Regions from separate parts of the Homo sapiens genome. Here regions 2, 3, 4 and 5 are each linked to region 1. Evidence: promoter capture Hi-C in 16 types of primary human blood cells and fetal thymus (Javierre and others, 2016). All regions are on one chromosome and are shown on one strand. The core of a region is centred on a gene start or on the middle of the fragment in contact, and the rest is flanking DNA. Distances in the headings are between cores, read along the strand shown.

The links. Contacts are between HindIII fragments. The CHiCAGO score rates a contact against its expected background, and 5 or more counts as called.
Region 2: a contact is called between a fragment that was not itself captured here and the fragment with the promoter of SEC23A in region 1, in 1 of 17 cell types (total B cells). The highest score is 5.1, in total B cells.
Region 3: a fragment that was not itself captured here is called in contact with the fragment with the promoter of SEC23A in region 1 in 1 of 17 cell types (fetal thymus); the score reaches 5.3 in fetal thymus.
Region 4: a contact is called between a fragment that was not itself captured here and the fragment with the promoter of SEC23A in region 1, in 2 of 17 cell types (M2 macrophages and neutrophils). The highest score is 6.4, in M2 macrophages.
Region 5: a fragment that was not itself captured here is called in contact with the fragment with the promoter of SEC23A in region 1 in 10 of 17 cell types (fetal thymus, non-activated CD4 T cells, total B cells and 7 more); the score reaches 11.0 in fetal thymus.

Annotation. Positions count from the first base shown.
Region 1 is chr14:39,101,891-39,104,805 of GRCh38, reverse strand. SEC23A (SEC23 homolog A, COPII component) reads left to right here and starts at 1,571. Exons shown (of 20, transcript NM_006364.4): 1 at 1,571-1,774. SEC23A-AS1 (SEC23A antisense RNA 1) reads right to left here and starts at 1,666. Exons shown (of 2, transcript NR_146545.1): 1 at 1,435-1,666; 2 at 994-1,261. RefSeq lists silencers at 1,356-1,585, 1,746-1,865, 1,886-1,965. The HindIII fragment of the contact is 19,881 bases long and covers 1-2,915 here.
Region 2 is chr14:39,478,784-39,481,557 of GRCh38, reverse strand. All of the region lies in intron 2 of LOC105370461 (a long non-coding RNA gene), which reads right to left. It overlaps LOC105370460 (a long non-coding RNA gene), which reads right to left. Exons shown (of 3, transcript XR_001750731.2): 2 at 1,244-1,689. Among named protein-coding and RNA genes, the nearest start is that of FBXO33, 48 kb to the right of the region's middle. The HindIII fragment of the contact is 1,217 bases long and covers 751-1,967 here.
Region 3 is chr14:39,457,678-39,460,432 of GRCh38, reverse strand. All of the region lies in intron 1 of LOC105370461 (a long non-coding RNA gene), which reads right to left. Among named protein-coding and RNA genes, the nearest start is that of FBXO33, 27 kb to the right of the region's middle. The HindIII fragment of the contact is 9,042 bases long and covers 1-2,755 here.
Region 4 is chr14:38,721,241-38,724,146 of GRCh38, reverse strand. No RefSeq gene overlaps it. Among named protein-coding and RNA genes, the nearest start is that of LINC00639, 190 kb to the left of the region's middle. The HindIII fragment of the contact is 1,390 bases long and covers 808-2,197 here.
Region 5 is chr14:39,439,641-39,442,340 of GRCh38, reverse strand. All of the region lies in intron 1 of LOC105370461 (a long non-coding RNA gene), which reads right to left. Among named protein-coding and RNA genes, the nearest start is that of FBXO33, 8.6 kb to the right of the region's middle. The HindIII fragment of the contact is 8,991 bases long and covers 1-2,700 here.

The DNA.
Region 1 (2,915 bases), core at 322-2,821:
GTTGTTTATGAGCTACCCAGTTGAGGGCATTTGTGTTAGCAGCCTAAATGGACTAAGATCTTTTTATCCTACTCATTCTTAGATCTTGTCGCTTTTGGTGGGTGTACTTATTCCACCTTTATAACAACACCTCTGCTGTGTGCTGTTAAGAATCTTCATTAAGGTAGCACCTTGAACCTACTTTATTTGGAAGCCTACACTAATTTTTGGCTTTCGATTCCCATTGCCCTCTTCAGGATTGTATTACAATTTGACAAGCAAACATCCTCTTCCACCTTCCAAAACAACTTTAGTACACACATTATAGAAAGGGAAATATGTTTGGTGCTTTTTTTTTTGAGACAGTCTCACTCTGTCACCCAGGCTGGAGTGCAATGGCGTGGTCTCGGCTCACTGCAACCTCCGCCTCCCGGGTTCAAGCAATTCTTCTGCCTCATCCTCCCGAGTAGCTGGGACTACAGGAGCGTGCCACCACACCCGGCTAATTTTTGTATTTTTAGTAGAGACGGTGTTTCACTATGTTGGCCAGGCTGGTCTCGAACTCCTTACCTTGTGATCCGCCTGCCTCCGCCTCCCAAAGTGTTGGGATTACAGGCGTGAGCCACCGCGCCCAGCCTGGTGCTGCTGTCTTATTTCTCATGAATATGAGCTTTCAAGGACAGGGACTTGATCTTTTTTTCCATTCCATAAAATGTTGATATGGCTAAACTTTGCAGGCTTTTAGGCGTTGTCATATATGCAATTAATTCCATGGGCACTTAATTTCATTCCCCTCACTGAAGGAAGGGGTTGTCTGAGACCACCAAGCTCTAATGTCTTACCAATCTGTTGCTTTCTCATTTTGTTCAACTTTTTTCTTGGAAAGAAAAACATTGAACATATCAAGATGAATCAGCCAAATATTGTACTGTGTGTGTGTTTTGGGGGTGGGGGGAGACAGAGTTGAAGTGGCAGAGGCAATGTAGGAGGAAAAGACAGGCTGACTAAAATACATAAATAGTACGTGAATTCTTTCGGGCCAGGGATCTGGGCCTACTTTGCCTGCATCATATTACCAGCATCTCAATTGTGTCTGGCACATAGTAAGTTTCAGTAAACATTTGTTGCACTAAGTGAAAGAATGAACTTTTCACTTTTTTCAGAGATGTGATTTGTGATTCTCGGAATCAACCAGGGTCCTAAGATGTCCTGGAGGCCGTCTCCATTTCTCTCGGTGAGCTAAGGTGTCCGAGTGGCACCAGTTCTCCACTCTTTCTGCGACCTGCAGGGAGTGGGATACGCTGTGGCTTTAGGGAGCTGGGAAAGGCGCTCTCTCCCGGTCCCGCTCTGCCCGGTCCCACGCCCCTCGGCCGTCCGGCTGCCTGGGTCTTCCGGGTTCTTCCGCCCCTCTGGCTCGGTCCCCGCTACCTCTCCTCCCTCCTCCCCTCTCGGTACCTTCGCCCGCCGCGCGCCTTTCTCAAATCCTCCGGTTATTAAGCAAGCTCAGGGGTCCGGTGGCCTGCCCTGGTAACTCTGCGCCCGCCCCTTCCTGCCCCCTTCCTGCCCTCACGCCCCGTCCCCTCCTCTTGACGTGGCAGAGGCGGCGCCAGCCATGTTGGCCGGGCGGAGGTCTTCGCTGAGGCCCGGGGCGGGGTGGCGCCACCCCTGATTGCGGTGCCACGGACTGCTCCTGCTGGGCGGAGAGGACAGATTTTGCAAAGCGGAGGCTGCGACGGGTCCTGCAGGGGGACAGTGAGGAAAGGGCCGCCTCGTCTCCGCTCCTGGGGGACCGCAGGTGCGCAGCGGGGAGCGGGGGCGGGCTGGCGGCGGCGGGCTGGGGGCTGGGATCCTGGGGTGGTCCCGGCTCTGCCCTCTCGGTGCCCCGGGGCCAGCGAGGTGTGCTGGAGGCTGAGGCCCGGTCCGGCGCGGGGAGCGTTGAGTGCTGAGCTTGCCACCCTCTCACCCACTTCGCTCTGCCGGGGCCGGGGGCCCGGCCTCCTCCAGCTCCCCTGGATTAGGTGGAAAGATGTGGAAAACGGTGGTTCGAGCATCTCGCCCAGCACCCACCCCCACCTCCTGGGCCACCCACCTCCACCCAAGTCCATCATCGCCTCTGGGCCCTTGGACTTACTGTTTCATTCCTTGCCAGATATGGAGTGTCCTAGACTTTGAACCCAATTGACTACGTCACCGTAATTCAGCCTTGGAAGTTAAAGGGGTTAAAGGGGAAAAGAGCTTGGTAAAGATAATGCCTTGGGTTTTGATTACAAAGAGTTCAGTTTTCCAGCAGGACCAGCCCTATCTCACTGGGCTTTCTTTCTACGGTAGGTAGTGTTTCCCGATTTGGTGGTAAAGGTACTGCCTGAGGAAGGTCATAGTAAATCTACATCAATCACTGAAGTGGGGATGTGGAATTCTCGTTTTCACTTGAACTCCCTCAACCTCTACCGTCCAAAGCCATGGATAACTAGCCAAATTAACTTGGTTTAAAAAGGTTTTAGATTTAAATATAAATGCATGTTGAGTTTTCCTTCTCTTTCTCCTCTGGTAGTGAATGAACATCATTTCAGAAGTCCAGCTATTTTTTTTTTTTCTGAGACGGAGTCTTGCTTTGTCGCCCAGGCTGGAGTGCAGTGGCGCAATCTCGGCTCACTGCAACCTCCGCCTCCCTGGTTCAAGCGATTCTCCTGCTTCAGCCTCCCGAGTAGCTGGGATTACAGGGGCGAGCTACTATGCCCGGCTAATTTTTGTATCTTTAGTAGAGACGGGGTTTCACCATGTTGGCCAGGCTGGTCTCGAACTCCTGACCTCAGGTGATCCGCCCGCCTCGGCCTCCCAAAGTGCTGGGATCACAGGCATGAGCCACTGCGCCCGGCCAGAGTCCAGCTATTTTTAATTGACTTACAGAATTTTAGAGTTAGATGGGACCTTGTGAT
Region 2 (2,774 bases), core at 110-2,609, 380 kb before region 1:
TTCATGTCCTTTGTAGGGACATGGATGAAGCTGGAAACCATCATTCTCAGCAAACTATCGCAAGGACCAAAAACCAAACACCGCATGTTCTCACTCACAGGTGGGAATTGAACAATGAGAACACATGGACACAGGAAGGGGAACATCACACACCGGGGCCTGTCGTGGGGTGTGGGGAGGGGGGAGGGATAGCATTAGGAGATATAGCTAATGTTAAATGACGAGTTATTGGGTGTAGCACACCAACATGGCACATGTATACATATGTAACAAACCTGCACGTTGTGCACATGTACCCTAGAACTTAAAGTATAATGAAAAAAAAAAAAAGAAAATCGTGTATACTGCCAAGATTATTGCTTACCACTATTTCCCTTCATTATCTTCTCATATCCTAGAGTCACTGTTCAAGCCCTTTTGTTGACTGGTATATTTTCTCAAGACTTCTCTAATCTCTGAATTCTCACACATCTGCAAACATCTTTCTCCCTAAGAGGTAACTGATAGCTTAGCTTAGCCTAGCCTAAGATTCATGGGTGTAATCTTCTGGTCTACTACCATTAAACCACCACATTCCAGTCTCAAGAAGTGCACACAGGAAATGTAATGTATGTCTGATTATTTGTCCTTTCCAACTAACGTTTTTTTTCTATCTGGACCCTGTAAGATTTTATCATTATCTTTGGAGTCTGAAAATTTTATAGGAATATGCCTATTACCTTTTTTTCCTCATCCATCCTAAATAAAGCTTGGATTAGAGAGACTGGGGCACTCTTCAAGTTGCAGATGTAGGTTTCTTCTAATATAATCATACTATTTTCTCTCACATTTTCTTTTTTTTTTAACCTCCTAGAACTCCTAATATTACACCTCTTGGTCTGTCTTATCCCATGATTTCCTTTTATTTATAATTTAGGGGGCTATTTTTAGCAGAGTTACACATGTGCATCATTTAAAACTTCTACAAGGTTAGATATGAAAAAATTAGATCCCCCCACACTTCAAATTTCTCACTCCCTGAATTGCTTTCAACTCTTTTTGCTGGTTTTTGGTATTTGCCCCAAATTCCTAAATAACATTGTTATAGTCTTATACTGTTACTAACTTTAGTTATAGGCATTATTATCTATATTATTTATTGCAGAAGCTAATAATTTAAATCTTTTCCATATAAAAGCAATAATTTCAACAAACATACACACACACACACACAGGTTATCTTGTTTCCCCAATAGCATTTTACCTTGTTATAGCAGATCAACATACATTATTTATATCAATGCCCATTGTTTATATTGACTACGTAAACACTATTGGTAACTAAAACATGTAGTTTACTATGATTATTTTCCCTAGAATTGAGAATTTTTTTCATTTTTAACTTTTCTATGTACTTAACATTAATGTATCCACCCAGTTCTCCAGAACTGATATGAATCTATTCTCAATGCACTCAAACTCCTTAGGCATTCTATCAATTTTATCTTCTTGAAGAAGTCTCTCCTTGAGCCTCCTGGTCTATTTCAGTTCGAACTGCATTATTTACAGGCTGTGGCTTTTCACCAACACTCAATTAATCCTGTTGTCTCTCTTTTGTGTTGGATCCCATTTCCTCAATTTTGTTTTCTTCTTCCTTGGTTTATGCCATTATTTTGATGATGCACAAGCTCCAGCAATTTCAAGGAAAGGCTATGGAAAAGAATCTTGAGTCAAATATCTTCATCATAATTTACTTCTCTATATGTATTTCTTCTTAGTTTTTAGATATTTCTTCCTCCTAATTTTTCCAACCTATAGTGACACTCCATAGTCACAGGTCTCCATAGTGACTCTCCTTAAATCCATCTACTGAAGTTTTATTTCAAAGATTTGTTTTTCAGTGTCTCAGACCACAGTGCAATCAAATTAGAACTCAGGATTAAGAAACTCACACAAAATCACACAATTACATGCAAACTGAACAAGCTTTTCCTGAATGACTCTTGGGTAAATAATAAAATTAAGGCAGAAATCAAGAAGTTCTTTGAAATCAATGAGAATAAAGAGACAATGTACCAGAATCTATGGAACACAGCTAAAGCAGTGTTAAGACAGAAATTTTAGCACTAAATGCCCACATCAGAAAGCTAGAAAGATCTCAAATCGATACCCTAACATCACAATTAAAAGAACTAGGGAAGCAAGAGCAAACAAAAAATCTAGCAGAAGACAAGAAATAACTAAGATCAGAGCAGAACTGAAGGAGACAGATACATGAAAAAAACCTTCAAAAAAAAATCAATGAATCCAGGAGCTGGTTTTTAAAAAAAAAAATTAACAAAATAGACTGCTAGCTAGATTAATGAAGAAAAAAGAGAGAAGAGTCAAATAGGCACAAGAAAAAAATGATAAAGGAGATATCACCATTGACCCCACAGAAATACAAACTACCATCACAGAATACTATAAACACCTCTACACGAAGAAACTAGAAGTTCTAGAAGAAATGAATAAATTCTAGGACACATACACCCTCCCAAGACTAAACCAGGAAGAAGTCGAATCCTTGAGTAGACCAATATCAAGTTCTGAAATTGAGGCACTAGTTAATAGCCTACCAACTAAAAAAAGACCAGGACTAGATAGATTCACAGCCAAATTCTATCAGAAGTACAAAGAGGAGCTGGTACCATTTCTGCTGAAACTATTCCAAACAAAAGAAAAAGAGGGACTCCTCCCTAACTCAATTTATGAGGCCAGCATCATCTTGATACCAAAACCTGGCAGAAACACAA
Region 3 (2,755 bases), core at 243-2,742, 360 kb before region 1:
CATCATTATCAAGTTATGTTGATAATATTCCTCACCATTTTAAAGAAAAGCAAACTTGGAGAGATTACTTGAACTTCTCAAAATAAAACACATATTTTACTGTTGTTCTGTAACCTGAATCTTGCTCAGCTGACTCCAGATACTCTTTGCACCACATGAAGTTGGCAGTATTGTTACAGATGATTGCATAATACAGTTAATGTGTGTTATATAAAAATGAGGGGAAAATTATTAATTTTGTATATAAATTGTCCTTTTCTTGTTTCAGTTACTCATTACCATATAAAAACCATCCCAAATTTAAAACATAAAGCAACCACCATTTCACTGTGGGTCTCACAGATTATGTGAGTCAGGAATTCGGAAAGGGTACAGCAGGTTGGCTTATCTCTGTTTCACAATGTCTGGGGCCTCAGGTGGGAACACTTGAAGGCTGAAAGTGACTCAAGAGCTGGGAGCTGAAATCACCTAGAAGTTCATTCATTCATATGACTGGTGGTTGATGTAGCTGTAAGCTGGGCTCTCAGCTGGGACTGTCAGTATTAATACCTACATATGGCCTCTCCATGGGCTCTTTGGACTTGCTCACATAATGGTGTCTAAGTTCCACAAACCATGTATCCAAGAAGAGAAGCTATATCATCATTTATGATATAGTCTTGGAAATCACATAGTGCCACTTCTGCTATAGTCACACTCCCACCCAGATTCAAGGAGAGAGAACAGAGACGCTACCTCTCAGTATAAAAACGCTACCTCTCAATATAAAAAGTTCAAAGTTATACTGTAAGAAAACCCAGTGGAATAGGAGTTATGGTTGTGTTCATTTTTGGAAAACACAATCCATGATACTTGTTAATTAAAGATAGTAACTAGCATGCTAAGTACACAGTATCAAGTAAGACATATTGCCTTAATACTAAATGAATAATACTTGATTAGAGAACAATTTTTAAAATCAATAATCCATAAAAAGCAATAAAAGACAAACCAGATTATCATATTATCAGCTGATGAAAACAAGTCAAATAAAATTCAGCAGTTATTCCTAATAAAAACTTTAAGAAATATAGGCCTAAAAGAAAACTATATAAATATGATAGTCTATTCACCACAGCCTACAGAAAATATACTAAACAATAAAACACTAAGTCATTTCAATTAATGTCAGGAAGCAAATAATAGAGTTCCATCACACAGGGATTTTGTCCTTTTTGTTCATTATTGAATCTCTAGCACCAATAAAGCACTTGACACACAAAAACGTGCTCAAGAAATTTTTGCAGAATAAATTGTTTTAAAAATATGAAAAAAGGGGGCAAAGGTAACAAAAAAAGCATGATAAAGAGAAATTAGACCAAAAATGAAGTAATTTATATGGACACTGAAAAGGAAATTAATGATTACATGATTATATATTTAGAAAATATACCAATGAAAGCATCCTGATTTAATAATAAGAATTTGGTAAGATGACTACAGTAAAGTTAAATTTAGAAAAATCAAGAACTTTTTTGTACTTGGAACCAGTAACCAAAAGAGGAAAAGGTGAAAATTTTTCCTCTTACAATAACAGCTAAAACTATAATAGGGGTACAGTAGTAATAAATGTAAACAAGGAAAACACAGAACCTATATGAAGAAAACAAAATCTTAACCTACATGAAGAAAACAAAACCTAATAATGTTATAACAGTTATTGTTATTTAGCCATGGAACACTGGAAAGACATAAATTGTAAAATTCATGTCAAAATTTATATGAATTCTCAAAATTCATATAAATCAAATGTAGTATTTTGTTCGTTTAATAAAATTATGTTAAAATTCATATGAAAGAAAAAATGCCTGAGAATACTCCCAAAAAGTATAAAATATAAGAAGGGTAAAGAGGGACAAACCTAATCAGACACATATAATAAAGCCTCTGCAATCAAATCAATAGGAAAAGTGGTTTGGGATTGAGCAAACAGACCATGGAAAGAGTAGCGAATACAAAAATAGATACCAGTATACAGGAGAGTTTTATATACAAAAATTCATTGGGAAAAAATAGCGTAATAAATGAGGCTGGTTATACATATGGAGAAAAGAATGGTTAATTTGATAGTGTTTGTTATCTATATGGAAAAAAAATACTGGAATGTGATATCAAACTATGTTCCAAAATTCCAGGTGGATTAAAGATTTAAATATAAAAAATTTTGGAACAATACACCCTAAATTTTTCCAAGCAAGAGAGTCAGTTAAGAACATTTGAGATGGATTTAAATATCATCTATATGTTGACAACAAATTATACATTCATACTTTTTATCTCCAGCCCAGGTTTCTCCCCTGAACTTCAGACTTCAATATTAACTACCTACTTGATAGTTTTGTTTGGAAATTTAATAGCAACAAGACTTATCATTTTACATTGTAAGTCACAATGTTTTATTTCCCTGCTCAAAACCCTCCAATGTCTATCATCCCCAGGAAAGAAAAAAAAAAATGCCCTTGCCATGGCCTAGAGGCCCCTAAATGATCTTGTCCCACTTGCTAACTCTCTGACCTCAACTCCTACTACTATTTCTTTGCTTATAATGGTCCATTCCCAATGGCCTTCTCAGTATTCTATGAATACACAAGTATGTTTCAACCTCAGGGCTTTTTCACTTGCTGTTCTCACTGCCTAGACTTGTCTTCTAACCAGACAACCACATGTTTTATTCTCTTTACTCCTTCAGATTTCTGCTCAAACATCATCTCATCAG
Region 4 (2,906 bases), core at 253-2,752, 380 kb after region 1:
TGTAGAACTGAAAAACGGTGCCATAAATAACAATTCCAGGCTGTCAGCATGGAGTGATCACTGCTCCCACCCTCCCGGTTCTACTCTTATTCTAAAGGCCAAAAAAGTTCTGAGAGTATTTATGTTCTATTCAGATTAACTAATTGAGATTTTGGCCTTTTTCTCTAGTTGCCTGTTCCTTTACTCAAAATTAATTTGTTACAAGGCACAGTGAGTTAATTAGTATGATTAGCTCCGTTATCTTCATGCTTGCATTTTTAAGGACTTTAAAGTCAAGGTACTGTTTCACAGATGATTATTTGCAGACAGTTAATTCTTGAGTTATTGTCTTGGGATGGCCGTTATCATATTAGCATGCCTTTTACATTTCTTGATTTTTAAAGAAACATCTCATTTTTATATTCCATTTTAGAACTTTCATTGTCAGTAAATATTACCAATGAGCTTCCGTTCTGTCAACAACATTTTCGTGTCACGTATTTTCAAAATATGAGATTTCAAATTCCAAAATGATTTGTTTCTATAAGTTTAGGGAAGTGGTGGTAGTAAGCATTTCATTAATAAAGTTGTTATAATGAGTACTCAATGTGTATTCAAAGTGTACCTGTTGATAATTTGAAGCAGAACAAAAGAGGGGGAAAAGAAAAAGAATGTACCACTAGGTGCCACTCTGATCTTAAAGCTTGAACCAATGAATGACAATTGCAACAATGACAGTGGTGGTGACATCAATAGACACTTTATGATAAAATGGAGGTAGTTTTTGTGACTATAATATTCTAAATTTAGGACATGAAATTTTAAGCTTGATGAGGATTTTGTCTGAAAATGACTTTTTTCAGATGCTTTGCAAATACTTTGTATTAGTTGATATTACTAAATCATTTATGAAATTAGCAAATGTGGAAGTATTGCTGACTTTTATAAAGGAGAAAGGTGTGGTTTGATGATCCTAGGATAGAGAGTCATCAATTTAGCATTGATATCAACTTTCACTATCATAGTAATAAAGCTATTGAACTATTCTTCTCTGGCTTGGTTATCCAGAAGAGATATCTCTTTCTCAGGAGTGTCATAAAAGACACTTGGTTAAAGTGTGAATAGTGTTCTGATTACAGTAATTGTTAAATATTATTATGTAAAGCGAGGTAATGATAGTAAAAATAAATGAAATGCATGAATGAAGCAGTTACCTGGTGATCAAACTACAAATAAAACATCAGTCCTATGTGGTGATTAAAAATTCTCTCTTCATAGAATATTTCCAAATAAAGAAGTCAAAGACAGTTTTCCTGAATTGTTGATATTTGACTTTCAATACAGTTACTGGTTCACAAAAAACCACTTAATTACCAGACTAATCTAATTGACCTAGGATAGCAGTGAGAGAGCTGTAAGGGGCTCTCTCTTCTTCACCTAGAAGACTTTACTGAACAAAGTCTAGGAGATCCTTGAAATTGTTAGCAAAGCATAAAGATATATACATATGTGTAGGTTCAGCAATATACATGTATCTCATTGGAACTTCAAAGACACTCATCAAAAAAGGGTTATATCCACTCTTCTAGGGTATTTGATAGTGGCAATGGCTAACATCACATCCAAGGGCTTGGTTGAAGGTAAAAATCAGTGCGAACGAACATCAAAAGCAACTTTCAGTGGGAAAAGTAACAAAGTGTCAACCTGAGGTCTCAACAGGAACTTTGGTTGTCATATGTAAAGCAATAAAGGCATTCCTTAGGACAACCTATACACATATGAGGGCCAAGAATTTTTTGTTTGTTTAGGTTTTTAAGCTCTGTTTTAAAAATCACATCTTCCCTCAAGTGCTGCAAACATAAAATCATTCCTGTCCTTTTACTCTCAAAATTGTGGTCCCTTTCTCTCTACCTTTCCCGAAACCAAAGGCCTGTGTGTGACCTTTGAACGAACTCACCCAACCTAGCAAAGTCATGATGCATTATTCCATGATGGGTGGGCCAGTGGGAGGGCTACCATTACAGAATACTTTCTCTTGGACTAGAAAGGTTTCCTAGGAGAATGAAGACAGAAGTTAAGTATATTGAAGAACTGGCAGAATTCATGCACTCAGTTAAAATGAAGAGACACTGCCTCCTGGAGGCCTGTATTGGGATAGCCGTGGTACAGTGTGAGGAAATGAGTAGTTTACACTCCCAGCCTAGATGGAATCAAAGCTTATTCCAGCCATGGCTGAGAGTGTGTCTGGAGACATAGCTAACAGAGAATTTATATTTTCTGACTGACAGTGAAAAATGAATGTTTTCACACCGTGGTAACTAAAATTTGGGGCAGTCATCTTTATTCACATTTGAATAAAACACCGATTCATGACAGGCTTCAGGTTGCTTAGTCAATCAGTTACGCGGCCAAAACTGCTGCGTCTGAGTCTCTTCCTCTCTGCTGGGCAGTTCCTTTTGGTTGTTTTTATTAGGTCTCAGTGTTACCTCTCGTGTGTTTTTCTTCTGTTATGTGCTCCAACAGGACAGAATTATTAGATCTGTACTGTCTTTGTAACCTAATTATTTTCCTGTCTCACATACTGCATTGATATATCCAGGTTTCCAAACATATGTATAGTTACAATTACACTGTGAATTTAAACTACTTAAGTCATATTATTTTAATCTACCAAAGATTTGAAATATTAATAACAACAGCACATGAAGATTATATTTTGGATTCTAATTTAAGAGAGTATACCTGTGATGGTTAATACTGAGTGTCAACTTGATTGAATTGAAGGATTCAATCATGGATTAAATTATTGATCCTGGGTGTGTCTGTGAGGGTGTTGCCAAAGGAGATTAACATTTGAGTCAGTGGGCCGAGAAAGGCAGACCCACCCTTAATCTGGGTGGGCACAATCTAATTAGCTGCCAGCACAG
Region 5 (2,700 bases), core at 196-2,695, 340 kb before region 1:
CAGATGTACTGCAAGCAGCTTCTGCTGCAAAGACCAGTGTCTCGATGAGGGGAACAAGGTGGCGCCCAAAAGCCCGGAGATGCCAGGAACCACAGAGCATCCAAAGAGGGTGTTATAGCATGTCACAGCTCTGGCTTAGGAAGCCCCAAGGTCTGGGCTTCCAGAAGGGCTACAGCTCTTCTCTCCTTCTCATTGCCTGCAGTGCAGAGAGCAGGGGATGGCAGCAAGTTTCAGTGGGGAGTGTTTAAGCCCATTTGTGTTATAGCTCTTTCAGTCCCACCACCACAACTGCAGCCCGTGGCTGGCCCAGCCCCACTGCTGCTTCCCACTGCATGGGGCGGCCACCCGGCGCCAACAAAGGGTGGAAGTGCTACAGTGTTACAGCAGCTCTACCTCAGGAAATCCCAAGGTCTGGGTCCCCAGAAGGGTTACCACTCTTCACTCTCATAGTCCAGGAGCGTGTCACTGCCTGCAGCTTGGCAAGCGGGCCAGGAAAGCATTACAGCTCCTTTCACACCTACCATTCAGTGATATCCTAGTTCTTGTCCCATGTCCATGAAGAATGAGGTAACATGGACAACTGGAAGGTGAACAAGGCAGAGATTTATTGAGCAACAGAACAGCTCTCAGTAGAGAGAAGACGTGTAGTGGGTAGCTCCTTTCCACTGGCAGGTCATCCTGAAGAGTATCTGAGTCTGCATGAGTCTAGGGTTTTTATGGGCTCAGAAGGGAGGAAGTGCATGCTGATTGATCCATGGGTAGCCATGGGCAGGCATGGAAAAAGCACCGTAAGTTCTCACTCTGGGCCGCGGACTCCACCCGTAATTGGCAGCCTGGCCCCCAGGCTTCAGGCCATCCCTGGCTTCAAGACGGGGTTTCACCAAGGACCTGCCCCTTCCCACCTAGGAATCTGTCTGCCTCCTGTTGCCATCAACATGCCATTTGTGCCCAGGCTGTCCATGCTGAGGGGAGCCCACAGGCCCACACCAAGCTGCCCTCAGCACCCCCGGTCTCCCTCTTGAGTTCATCAGTGCCCAAAGTTTCAGAGTTTCAGCTCCCTCTGAGCTCATCAGTGCTCAAGGCGGCAGTGGGAGTTGGTGTGTCAGTGTTGCCCCAGGCATGCACACACCTGGCTGGGTCACGACAGTGCCTGGGCTAAGCTATAACTTTGCTCCACACCAGAGTGGAAACTGAGAGCAGGGAGAGGCCAGGGAGAGTGGGAGCAGGCACTTCCGAACTTGCGGGGGCAAGAGGCTCCCTGGGCCCCAGAGAGCACAGGGATGCCCAGGTCTGGAGCCATGGCTGGGTGGTTACAGCTGCACCTAGAAGTGCAGGCTCCTGCCCCACCAATTTGGTAGAGTGTGAGGCTTCCACTGGGATCACCTGTTCCCACCCCCTACGGGCTCCACAGAGGGCACAGCCCCAGGTGCACCCCCTCCTACTGCAGCGGCCTTCACCGCAGCAGCTGCTCCAGATGAGCCGCCACCATCACTAGGAGGAAGCTGCAATTGAGATAAAAGCTGTCCTGTGCACTGAAACCTTAGAGATTCTGGGTTCAGTGCACCTGAGGAACTATCTCTAAGGAACATTAAGGAAAGAGTGAGAAGGTTAGCTAGGAATAGAGATTAACTAAAGATCTGAATACAAGAAAACTATACTAAACAAATCCACCGTTTTCTTCCATCTCTGTCCACAGCAAATACAAGGACCCTAGTATTTACCTTCAGCCAAAAATAGTAATAAAAGGATAGGCCTCCTTTGTGGCAAAACTTCATCTCTCAGACCCTTTATGTCTAGGCAAGACCATGTGTCTAGTTTTAGCCAATGAATGTAGGAAGTAATCTGTCATTTCCTTGCTACGGCAATTAAGAAGTGCCTTCTCCATTCTCTCTTCCCCTTCCATTACAAGAGACAGAGAATCACAGGGCATTTTAAGGATGGTATAACTATAAAACAGAAGGAATTAGGGTCACTGAATCATCACATGAAGGAAAGCCGCCTGCTAAGAACACCTTCAGTGGACAGTTAAAGGAGTGAAAAAATACACGGCTATTTTGTTGACATTAAGATCTTCAGGTTTCCCTTTTATAGAAACTAGCATCTTTATTAATTAGAGCCCTTCTTATAAACGAAAGACAGGAAAAATTAACTTTACACAAATCGTAAGACCCAAATCCAACATCAATAATCATGGGAGAAAGTATGCTTTTTCCATAAAGGTGGGTAAAGGGGAAAAAAGTGAATATTTGCCTAATATTTATCTAACATACTATAATCTAGCCAATTATAGACAGAAGATTGTGACTGCTATGTAGCAAAAGCTGATTAATGTAAGAACAACCAAGAGGCTGGACACGGTGGCTCATGCCTATAAACCCAGCACTTTGGAAGGCTGAGGCAGGAAGATTACTTGAGGCCAGGAGTCCAAAACTAGCCTGACCAACATGGTGAAACCCATCTCCACTAAAAATACAAAAATTAGCCAGGTGTGGTGATGCACACCTGGAGTCCCAGCTACTCAGGAGGCTGAGGCAGGAGAATTGCTTGAACCAGAAGATGGAGGCTGCAGTGAGCCAAGATCACATCACTATACTCCAGCCTTGGCAATAGAGCAAGACTCCATCTCCAAAAAAAAAACCAAGAGAAAAACAAAATATTACGATTATCAAATATTGGTAGGAATATGGAAGAGGGAAAGAG